Regions from separate parts of the Homo sapiens genome. Here region 1 is linked to region 2. Evidence: promoter capture Hi-C in 16 types of primary human blood cells and fetal thymus (Javierre and others, 2016). All regions are on one chromosome and are shown on one strand. Each heading gives the region's core, a stretch centred on a gene start or on the middle of the fragment in contact. The rest is flanking DNA. Distances are from core to core; before and after follow the strand shown. Region 1 has its middle 40 kb from the start of XKR3. Region 2 holds the start of XKR3 (XK related 3).

Region 1 (5,090 bases), core at 2,060-4,559, 39 kb before region 2:
ATCATTAAAAAGTCAGGAAACAACAGGTGCTGGAGAGGATGTGGAGAAATAGGAACACTTTCACACTGTTGGTGGGACTGTAAACTAGTTCAACCATTGTGGAAGTCAGTGTGGCGATTCCTCAGGGATCTAGAACTAGAAATACCATTTGACCCAGCCATCCCACTACTGGGTATATACCCAAAGGACTATAAATCATGCTGCTATAAAGACACATGCACACGTATGTTTATTGTGGCACTATTCACAATAGCAAAGACTTGGAACCAACCCAAATGTCCAAAAATGATAGACTGGATGAAGAAAATGTGGCACATATACACCATGGAATACTATGCATCCATAAAAAATGATGAGTTCATGTCCTTTGTAGGGACATGGATGAAGCTGGAAACCATCATTCTCAGCAAACTACCGCAAGGACAAAAAACCAAACACCACATGTTCTCACTCGTAGGTGGGAATTGAACAATGAGAACACTTGGACTCAGGAAGAGGAACATCACACACCGGGGCCAGTTGTGGGGTGGGGGGAGGGGGGAGCGATCGATTTTGGAGATATGCCTAATATGAATGATGAGTTAATGGGTGCAGAACACCAACATGGCACATGTATACATATGCAACAAACCTGCACATTGTGCATGTGTACCCTAGAACTTAAAGTATAATAAAAAAAAATATATATATAAAAATTTAAAAAAGAAAGAAATAGATGTTCTGTAAAAATATAGACAATTTTTACAGACAAATACATTTATAAGTTGTTTTTATCTGAAAAATTGGGGATATTTCATATTTATAACTAATTATTGAGCCTTAAGTTTTCTTGGCCATTTCTAGGCTAATAAACTAAGAATTATGTAAACTAAGCCAAAGTAGAATAGACATAAAAGTCCTGAACACTTCAACTTCCTATTCTTCAAGAAGTATACCCGGCAAAGCTCATTTGAGAGAGGAAAAGCTTTCCTCCACCCTCTGTTTTACAGCGCTGAGGCTTCTCATCACAGTTCTATGACTTGTAGCTTAAATCCGTGTTACATGGTCACTGGCGTTGTTAGTGCTTCTCTTTTAACACTGTAGGAATTAATCAATTCGGTAGCATATTTAATTAATTCTATCACTAGCCTGGCTACTGGCCACCCTTCTCTTCTCAACCAGGAAATTAAGTCAGAAAGGCTTATTTTCCCTTAGTAAGACTTTGGGGACATAGCAAAGTTCATGACAATAAGAAAGAAGTGGCAGCAAGCGTTTGAAAAGAGTGGTTTCAGTCAACTGAGGGGTTCCCATGGGAGAAGCAGGATCAAAGAGAGAGAGAGAGAAAGAACAGGGAGGGCTAATTAGATTAGTTCATAGTTGTCCCAAGAGCGACGCCTTTGGGGGCTTCCCTTAGGGGGGAAAGAGTCCAGGCCAAAGGGATGACCCGTGAGATGGCTGCTGTAAAAGTGGACTATTCTTTTTCCAGTGGCCTGGCTATTTGCAAAAAAGGCAGACATCTTAGGGCACAGGGGTGTTTAGTTTGCATGCACAAGTAGAAGTACTCCCAATCCCTGCAGTTGTTGTAACTGGGAGGACATGCACCTGTTTACCTTTGTAAGTGTTTCCCCACTGTCACCACTGTAATTCTAGGTTATCTTTAGGGAGGCCAAACTTATCTATCTACTGAACCCAGTCCAGTTGCCATCTGATCATCAGACTGAGTGACCTCTTACGTCGATCCAATACAGTTCACCAATCAAATCCAATTTGATGCTGGACTGAGTCAAGTTTTTACCAATGACTCATCAGCTACCCAAACCTCAAAAGGCCATATGTCATCTCACAGCACAAACTGGCCACTGGCACCCACCCCAAGGTTATTTGCCCTCTCATAGCACAAAACCCTGGATTCGAAACCCAAAAGGATCAAGGTTCAATGCAAAAACAGCAGAGTCTGGCCTAAGAGGAATGTACAACCTCAGAAGGAGGGCAAAGGGGCCAGCAGTGTCTTTCCTGAATTCCTCAAGGGGTCTTGGGAGGTGGATCCCATCCAGCTTGCCAGAACTCTCAAAAGACAAAATTACAACAAATTTACTTTAAACTAAATAAATAAAATAAAATAAATAAATGAAACTTAGCTTTTATTTATTATTTCAGAATCAACTTCGAAACCCAGTCTGGATAAAAAAATAAAAATAAAAACCCTTACAAAGGTAAACAAATGCATAGCTCAAAACACAAATCCTTGGAGCTTCAAAATTTGAGAGAGAACTTGCCCAGGACCCCTGCTGCTGTGAGAGATCTGTGTGCACAATGGACCTGGTGGGTCGCTGTGCTTGGGCACTCCATGCTTCTGGGGTTTGATGGACGTTCTACTTCAGATTGCATTTCCTACACTAATCTGTTAAAAAAAACCTTTACATATGCTAAATTTAGCAGAGTTTATTTGAGCAAAGAAACCGTTTAGGAATCAGGCAGCAGTTTGCACCAAAAATGGCTCAGAACACTCCATGCCACCATTTGTGCAGGTTACATTTACAGCTAGAGAAAAAGAAGTGCACAGAAACAGCCTGATTGGCTGCTGTTGGCATTTACCTCATATAGTCATGTTTTGGCAGCTTTCAGCCTCTGATTGGCTGAAGGCTCAGCTGTTTTCATTGGCTAAGACATAGTTACATGTTATAAGACTATAGTCTTGGGTTAAGTTACAGTTATTTTTACACATTAAGTTAGGTTACAACTAGCTATGTATACAGAACTCATTAGGCCAAACTTAAAATAAGTATGGAGGCTGCTTTAGGACACCTGTATGAGCGAAGTATGCCAGAGTGGCAGAGTGCTACATACATATGTGTAAATTTCTATATTAAATATATTTATGTATGTTACCTATATATTTATATGCTCATAAATATATATTTCCTTGAATAGTCAGCTATGTTCTCTATTTCTAAATTTATAAATATGCATATTTATGTGTGTGTGTATATGTATATATATATGTATATTTAATTTTTATGTGTTTGCTTCTGCCTTATTTGTAAGGTAGCCCAAAATGGCAGAGAGATTACATATGTATGCTATAAATGTTTATAGTATATATTTATGTTTATGTATATATTTAAATGTTGCATAGTTTTTTTTTTCAAGAATTTGAAAAAGTTTCTAAATTGAGGAAAAATTTATGTAAGATTAAGCTCTTTAAAGTGTATCATTCACTGACATTTAGGACATTCTTAACACTCTCTAGTTCCAGAATTTTTTTTTCTTTTTTGAGTGGGGTCTCATTCTGTCCCTTAGGCTGGAGTGCAGTGGTGAGATTTTGACTCACTGCAATCTCCACCTCCCAGGCTCAAACAATCTTCCCACCTCAGCCTTCTGAATAGCTGGGACCACAGGCACATGTGCCACAACGCCCAGCTAATTCTTCGTATTTTTTTTGGTAAACACGGAGTTTCACCATGTTGCCCAGGCTGGTCTTGAACTCCTGAGCTCAGGCGATCCACCTGCCTTGGTCTCCCAAAGTGCCGGGAGTTTTTATAGTTCGAGGTCTTACATTTAAGTCTTTAATCCCTCTTGAGTTACTTTTTGTATATGGTGATAAGTAGGGGTCCAGTTTCATTCTGGCATCTACATAGCCAGTTATCCTAGAATCATTTATTGAATAGGAAGTCCTTTTCCTATTGCTTATTTTTGTCACCTTTGTCAAAGATCAGTTAGCTGTAGATGTGTGGCTTTATTTCTGGGTTCTTTATCCTGTTCTAATGGTCTATGTGTCTGTTTTTGTACAAACACCATGCTGTTTTGGTTACTGTAGCCTTATAGTATAGTTTGAAGTGAGGTAGTGTGATGCCTCCTGCTTTGTTCTTTTTGCTTAGGATTGCTTTGGTGATTTGTGCTCTTTCTGAGTTCTTTATAAATTTTAGAATAGGTTTTTTTTTCTAATTCTGTGAAAAATGACATTGGTAGTTTGATAGGAATAACACTGAATCTGGGGATTGCTTTTGATAGTATATGGCAATTTTAACAATATTGATTCTTCCTATTCTTGAGCATGGAATGTTTTTCCATTTGTTTGGGTCAGCTCTGATTTCTTTCAGCAGTGCTTTGTAATTATTGTTTTCTTGTTGTAGAGATCTTTCACCTCCCTGGTTCCCTTTATTCCTTGGTATTTTTGTGTGTGTATGTGTCTATTGTGAATTAAATTGCATTCTTGATTTGGCACTCAGCTTGGATATTGTTGGTGTATAGAAATACTGCTGATTTATGTACCTTGATGTTGTATCCTGAAACTTTGCTGAAGTTGTTTATTAGATCTAGGAGCTTTTAGGCAGAGACTATGGGGTTTTCTAGGTATAAAATCATGTTATCTGCAAACAGAGATAGTTTGACTTCCTGTCTTCCTATTTGGATGCTTTAACTTCTTTCTCTTGCCTGATTGCTCTGGCTAGGATTTCTAGTACTGTGTTGAATAGGAGTGATGGCAGTGGGTATCCTTGTCTTGTTCCAGTTCTCAAGTGGAATGAACCCAGCTTCTGCCTGTTCAGTGTGATGTTGGCTGTGGGTTTGTCATAAATGGCTCTTATTATTTTGAGGTATGTTCCTTCAATACCTAGTTTATTAAGGGTTTTTAACATAAAGGGATGTTGAATTTTATCAAAAGTCTTTTCTGTATCTATTGAGATGATCATGTGGTTTTTGTTTTTAGTTCTGTTTATGTGATAAGTCACATTTATTGATTTGCATATGTTGAACCAACCTTGCTTGTTTATCCCAGGGATAAACCCTGCTTGATTAAGGTGGATTAGCTTTTTGATGTGCTGGTAGATTCAGTTTGCTAGTATTTTGTTAAGGATTTTTGCATCTGTGTTCATCAAGGATATTGGCCTGTAGTTTTTTCTTTGTTGTGTCTCTGCCAGGCTTTGGTATCAGAATGATGCTTGCCTCATAGAATGAGTTAGTGAGGAGTCTCTGCTCCTCAATTGTTTGGAATAGTTTCAAGTAGGGATAGCAGCAGCTCTTCTTTATACGTCTGGTAGAATTTGGCTGTGAATTCATCTGATCCTGGGCTTTTTCTTGCTCAAAATCATAAAATTAGATGGAAACTATTT
Region 2 (5,777 bases), core at 2,980-5,479:
GATCTCACCAGATGCAGCCCCTTGGACTTTCCAGCCTTCAGAATAATGAGCAAAATAAGTCACCTTACAAATTACCCAGTCAGTGGTATTGTGTTGTCGCAGCAGCAAATGGACTAAAACACTCTATTATTTCTTCCTCTTTAGATAATTAAATAAACTAGCTTACAAAGGGCCATGTCAAATTTCCCATCAAATGATAAAAAAGCACATATTTTTTTTTAAATGCGGTACAGTAGCCTGCCACTAAAACAAAGCCCCATTTTACTCCTAACTGTATTTTTAGAAATAAAGGAAAAGCAACCATAAAGGTCAACATGTAATTTTATTGTTCAGTAAGATTATTGCAGGAATTTTTAATGTTCTTGTCAACATAAATTTCAGTCTCTGTTGTCATGCATAATCTGGTACTCTTTTGGTGGAAGATCAGTTGTAACTAGGGTGATATTTTTCCAGTAAAGATGGTTGAAGAGCTGGCCTGTAACGAAAGGCAACTGATGTATCAGCTGTCGCAGTCATTTACAACCACAGGTTGCCTGCTGGTAGCAGGTTAGAATGAGGAGCCTCATTGGCTAATACCTCAGGATATCTGGTGGGAAAAAGTAGGTGGTTTCACTATCAGCCCCAAAGGAGGGAGATATGATGTAGTATTGAGAAGCTGTGGTTGTAACAAAATTCACAACGTGGCCATTTGCTTACATGTCGGTGCTATGAGAGTGCATATGAATATTTGTCAATTGATTTAAAATAGCATGTTGATTTGTTGTAATTTGTTCTGATTGTCCAACTGAGGTTGAAATGGAAGAGGAGGGAAACCACTTCTAATTGGGTCAGGTGAACCAGCAATGCCCTGGCTGACAGAAGATTTCCTTGTTAGAGTCATATTTAAATTTGTAGATGTTGAAAATGAACTTTCTTCACTAGTTTCAGCAGCTAAGACAGAATTATGTTTATCTGTGTTAGCCCCTGCTCTAAAGTGTTTCTTGAAATATTCAGTGAAGTAGATACAAGAGAAGTGTTTTTAATCTTAATTCTTCTTTTCGTTCTTATTAAAAGTTGGGGACAGCCACGTTTGAAATTCGGATGATAATACAACTTTAACTAAAACCAAGGAGAAGGTAATTCAGTGCCATTTTAAACCAAGAGGCAAGTAACAATAACAAACATAACCCATACAATCTCAGATTTCTGTTTTATCACACAAAGTTAATATCATCAAATAATGAATGAACATTGTTTACTATTTTTAAGAACATGCTTGTTGAGAAAAAAAAACACTCAAGTTTTGAAGCCCTCTGGTGAAAACATGTTATACATTTAATAGTAACATTTCACTAAGTGGCTTTGGTATCTTTATTTGGAGTTCACTGGTAAGACTGAATGTTGTTAGCAACATTTCTTAAAACCTGAAAGTTTAATGCTCAACCTGCACTCAATAATTTCAAAAAAATTAAGTAATTTTTACCTTAATATTTGATATAATTTTTAAAATCTGATCTTACTGCATGTATTAACATAGTTACTGATATATAAAATGAAATTACATATATACTCAAAGTGGTAACTGAAATATTTTGAATACCTTGCTTAAAACAGAAATTTCTTTTTCTTCTGCCAGAAAGTTGGCTAGAAAAGCAGATCTGTGAAAATTCTGTTGAATTTTACTAAATCCATAAAGGTTGAGCTGTCAAATTAAGATTTTCATACTGTCAGTTTGAAATATTCTGTAAGGAGCCTTTATTTCCAAATTTTCTTTCTTGAAGAGTTCTTCATTAGTCACTATGCAAGTTTCATTCTTATCCTATGAATTAGACTTGAATTGGTCACTTTCAGCTATTTTCCAAAGTTTACTGGGAAAGGTCAGAGAAGGAAAATCATTATCTTTATCTGGCTCAGAGACATAAAGTATAATGTGGCCTTTTTATCAAGGATCCTTGTGGCAAAACCTGAAAATCATTGATTCAGTCATTGACCTTAAGTCTGAATCCCCAGGGATTATGTGTTCACACAATGGAGACCCAGAGGAGGCTTTTGAACCAGTTGATTCATCTTTAGGAGAAACATCTTGAGTTTCTGCAGAAACATGTGCCATCTCAAATAAGTAATTCTTTAGCGACTTTTCCAGCCTGCATGTGTTTCAAGACTGCAGCTTCAAATGCTGCTTCAGTAGTCTACTCAGGTAAAGTAATTGAGATCACCACAGTGGTTTCCAACCTGAGTAGCAATGGCATCACAAGAGGACTTTGGTCACCTAGCAACAAACATAAAAATTTGGCCAAGACTGTTTACTTTCCAGTCTCAGAAATGTATCTGGTAAAAATAAAATATAGAATGATTACTTACACAGTTTATTCTGCAAAAGTTTCATGCCTGCAGAATCTTTTAAATTAATAAGGAGGGCCAGGCATGGTGGCTCATGCCTGCAATCCCAGCGCTTTGGGAGGCCGGGACAGGCGGATCATGAGGTCATGAGTTCGAGACCAGCCTGACCACCATGGTGACACCCTGTCTCTACTAAAAATACAAAAATTAGCCAGGTGTGGTCCATGTGCCTGTAGTCCCAGGTCTCGGGAGGCTGAGGCAGAAGAATCGTTTGAACCCAGGAGGCGGAAGCTGCAGTGAGCTGAGATTGTGCCACTGCACTCCAGCCTGGGCAACAGAGCAAGACTCTGTCTTAAGAAAATAATAAATAAATAAATAAATAAATAAATAAATAAATTAATTAATATCCTCAATCCCTGAAATAAACATAATTTTCTCCTTGACACACACAGTCTTACTAGATTGGTGCGAGGAGCATAGGGCCTGGTAATTGGACGGTGCAAAAAAATAAAAATAAATATTTTAAAAACTCTCTCAGCTTGGCATGTTGGATTGAAAACTGATGCAGTGTAAAACATATATGGTAAAAAGACATGGCCATATAGACAAAAGGTAGGTTAATGGTTGTCAGGGGCTGGGGAATAGAAAGAACTGTTAAGTAGATAATGGGGTTTCCTGTTTGATGATAGAAATGTTTTAATAATATAATTTTGAATAATGTAATTTTGTATTATGTGAAACATACCTTAAAAAATTAAAATAAAATCAAATATGAATAAAACTGATTAGATTTCAGAATAAAAAGTTATTCATGTATGTATCTATTCAAAACATTTTTTATTCATATCATAGAATAAATAATACTTTCATTTGGTATGTCTGTAAATATCTGACATGTTAATTATGTAAGATTTTAAAAGCAAGTGACCTACTTATAAGGAGATCCCAAAGAGTGGGAGATTTAAAAATGTAATAATAACAAGAAAGTGTTTTAAGTAAAGTAAATTTGTATGTATGTCTAAGCAGAAAATTTTATTATTTGGTTCCAAGAGCCAAATATCTATTTAAAAAATATTTCTTAAGGAATAATCTCTGTGTCCTGCAACGTAAAGTTATCATTATAAAACAGGAGTCAAATTTGTGAATTAATCTTAGAATTGAATAAAATATTTCTTCTCTTTGAAAAATAATCATGCCCCATTTACAGTAAGAATTTTTATATGTTCATGCTTGAGAGGTGGTATATTAAAATTCTAATGCCTTGGCTTTAAGTGTTGAATATGTGTGGAATAAAAAAATAATGATTTTGATATTTCTTATACTGTAGGAGGCAGTTCTCTCATACTGGAAAGAGGTGTCATTGTTAGAAGCTTGTCTTGGTTTAACATAGTTTAAGTTTTGGGGGTGTATTTTGTTTAGTTCAAAATTTTCCATATTAGCAGTAAGTAACAAAAATGTCCAGATCAGAAAACTCTTTGTGAAAATAAAACAGGTGCTCCTACCAGATGTGGTTCATCAATTTTGACAGAATTTTCATTTAAAAAAGGCAAAATTAAAATTTGTTTAATTGTTTGCTTTCTGGGGAATTTTCTTGTTGCTCTGTCTGAAGGAAGTACAGACTTCTTTTGTGATGGGAGGGGATGAATGGCTACTAGACAGCAGCAAAAGATGGGCCATGGGTGCGAAGAGAAGAGGGAGTTAATGGGAGAATCAGAAAAATATCACCTTAAATGTAGGACAATCGAAGTCAAATTGTGGCTGAGCGTTTTGGGGAACTAAGATGTGTGACTCTGTAGGGAGGAAGAATGCCTTGGTGTTTTCAAGGGAAGATGACTCAGCTAGTGCAGTCACCTGACTCCAAACTGCAAGCCTACTTTAGTCATAAAAAGGCAAGAAAATAAGCAATTTTACCTGCAAAGCAAAGGACGTAGTGTTGAAAACGAGACCAGAAATGGTGCTGTTAAAGAGGTGAACAAAAGCATTTACTTTTTGAACGAGTTTCAAAACTGTGAGGGTGGCAAATAGGCAAGGTAAGTAGGAGCAGCCCTCGACCATCTCAGATCAGCTTCTTCAGCCTACCTTGACCTCTGCCTGTCTCAGCTGGGGATCTTAACATAAATCTCTGGATATCAGGGGTGGCTTTTCCCGAGTCTTGAGCCTAGAAACTCCCTCTCTTGATTCTGATTTTCAGAGAAGAGAAGCAGCTGCTTAGCATTTGGGTGGGACAGTGGTTGTTACTAATATATTACAAATTTCAGCATGTTTTTAAACATCAGAAGGAGAAAGTGCTTCGTATTTAAGTGAAATCTCAAAGGGGCAGAAATCTACCATATTTTTTGTTATTCAGATGCAGTGATGCACTGGCTATGTGAGTACAAGAAACAAGTTCACTTAATCACAAACACATGCCTAAATTCCATTGTTCAGTGACTTCACTTTCACTTTCTACCTTGAATTTTAGACTCTGGAAGACCCATTTCTAAACTCTGTGGCCCTTTTCATATGTGCATATTTTCATAAGTGTTTTCCAGAAATAAATTATAGAGGTCCTTCTGTGAGTCCAAAGGAGAAGGAAGTGGTTGGGGCAGCCAGAAAGGTGCAATCTGCATTAATATCATATTCGATGTATGGATTGCTGGGGAGAGAGTGGGATATATTTCTTATAATGTTGGATGTATTTTTCCCCTATCCTGAGGCCCAGAAACTCTGATGTCTCTGCAGTTGTCTTTCCATGCTTTCCTTTATACCCCTCGCCTACTTCTGTAATTTCTCTCTCTACTCTCCCTCCTCCTTCCCACCCTTTTTCTTTCCATTTGTGCTCTCTCCCTCCATTCCTTCTTTTTCCCTTTTCTTTCTTTTTGTGGGTATCTGGTAGCTGCAACTTATTTTCTTTCTGCTTTTCTTACTCACTTACTCTATTTACTAGGTATTTAACAATTGTCTTTAAAAGTAACATCCTTTCTTTCTTAAAATTTTATCCCTAATGGACATTATTTGGGGAAAAACATTTTTATGGTGCCTCTAGATAAGTAATTATATCATCTGCACATGATTCCCGTATTTTCTTACATGCCCGTTCCTCGTAGGTGGAAATGGGTACTTCATTGTACTCTTCTCTCTTTATTTACAAGAGTGTTTTTTCTGTCTCATCCCTTTAAATAACACATTGTCTCTCTTTTTGTGACATTGAATTAATTAGGTCAGATGCGATTTTTCTCATCTATTCATTTGAAGACTGTTTCATATTGCTTCTAGGGCCTATTTGCAAGCAACAAATTATTTTGTTGTTGTTGTTGTTTTGTTTTGTTTTTTAATTTTTGGACCATTTGTCTCATCACTCCAACAAGCAAGAATTAGTTCTCATCATTAAGATCCCTTCAAGATTTCATTCACTTGTTTCAGCAGCCTTGAATTATCATCACCTGGACCTGTTGTTACATCAAGAATCTCTCATTTCT

The links. Contacts are between HindIII fragments. The CHiCAGO score rates a contact against its expected background, and 5 or more counts as called.
Region 1: a fragment that was not itself captured here is called in contact with the fragment with the promoter of XKR3 in region 2 in 1 of 17 cell types (M2 macrophages); the score reaches 8.7 in M2 macrophages.

The regions. Positions count from the first base shown.
Region 1 is chr22:16,863,026-16,868,115 of GRCh38, reverse strand. No RefSeq gene overlaps it. Among named protein-coding and RNA genes, the nearest start is that of XKR3, 40 kb to the right of the region's middle. The HindIII fragment of the contact is 4,686 bases long and covers 967-5,090 here.
Region 2 is chr22:16,823,863-16,829,639 of GRCh38, reverse strand. XKR3 (XK related 3) reads left to right here and starts at 4,229. Exons shown (of 4, transcript NM_001386955.1): 1 at 4,229-4,349. It also overlaps the pseudogene HSFY1P1. The HindIII fragment of the contact is 7,309 bases long and covers 3,692-5,777 here.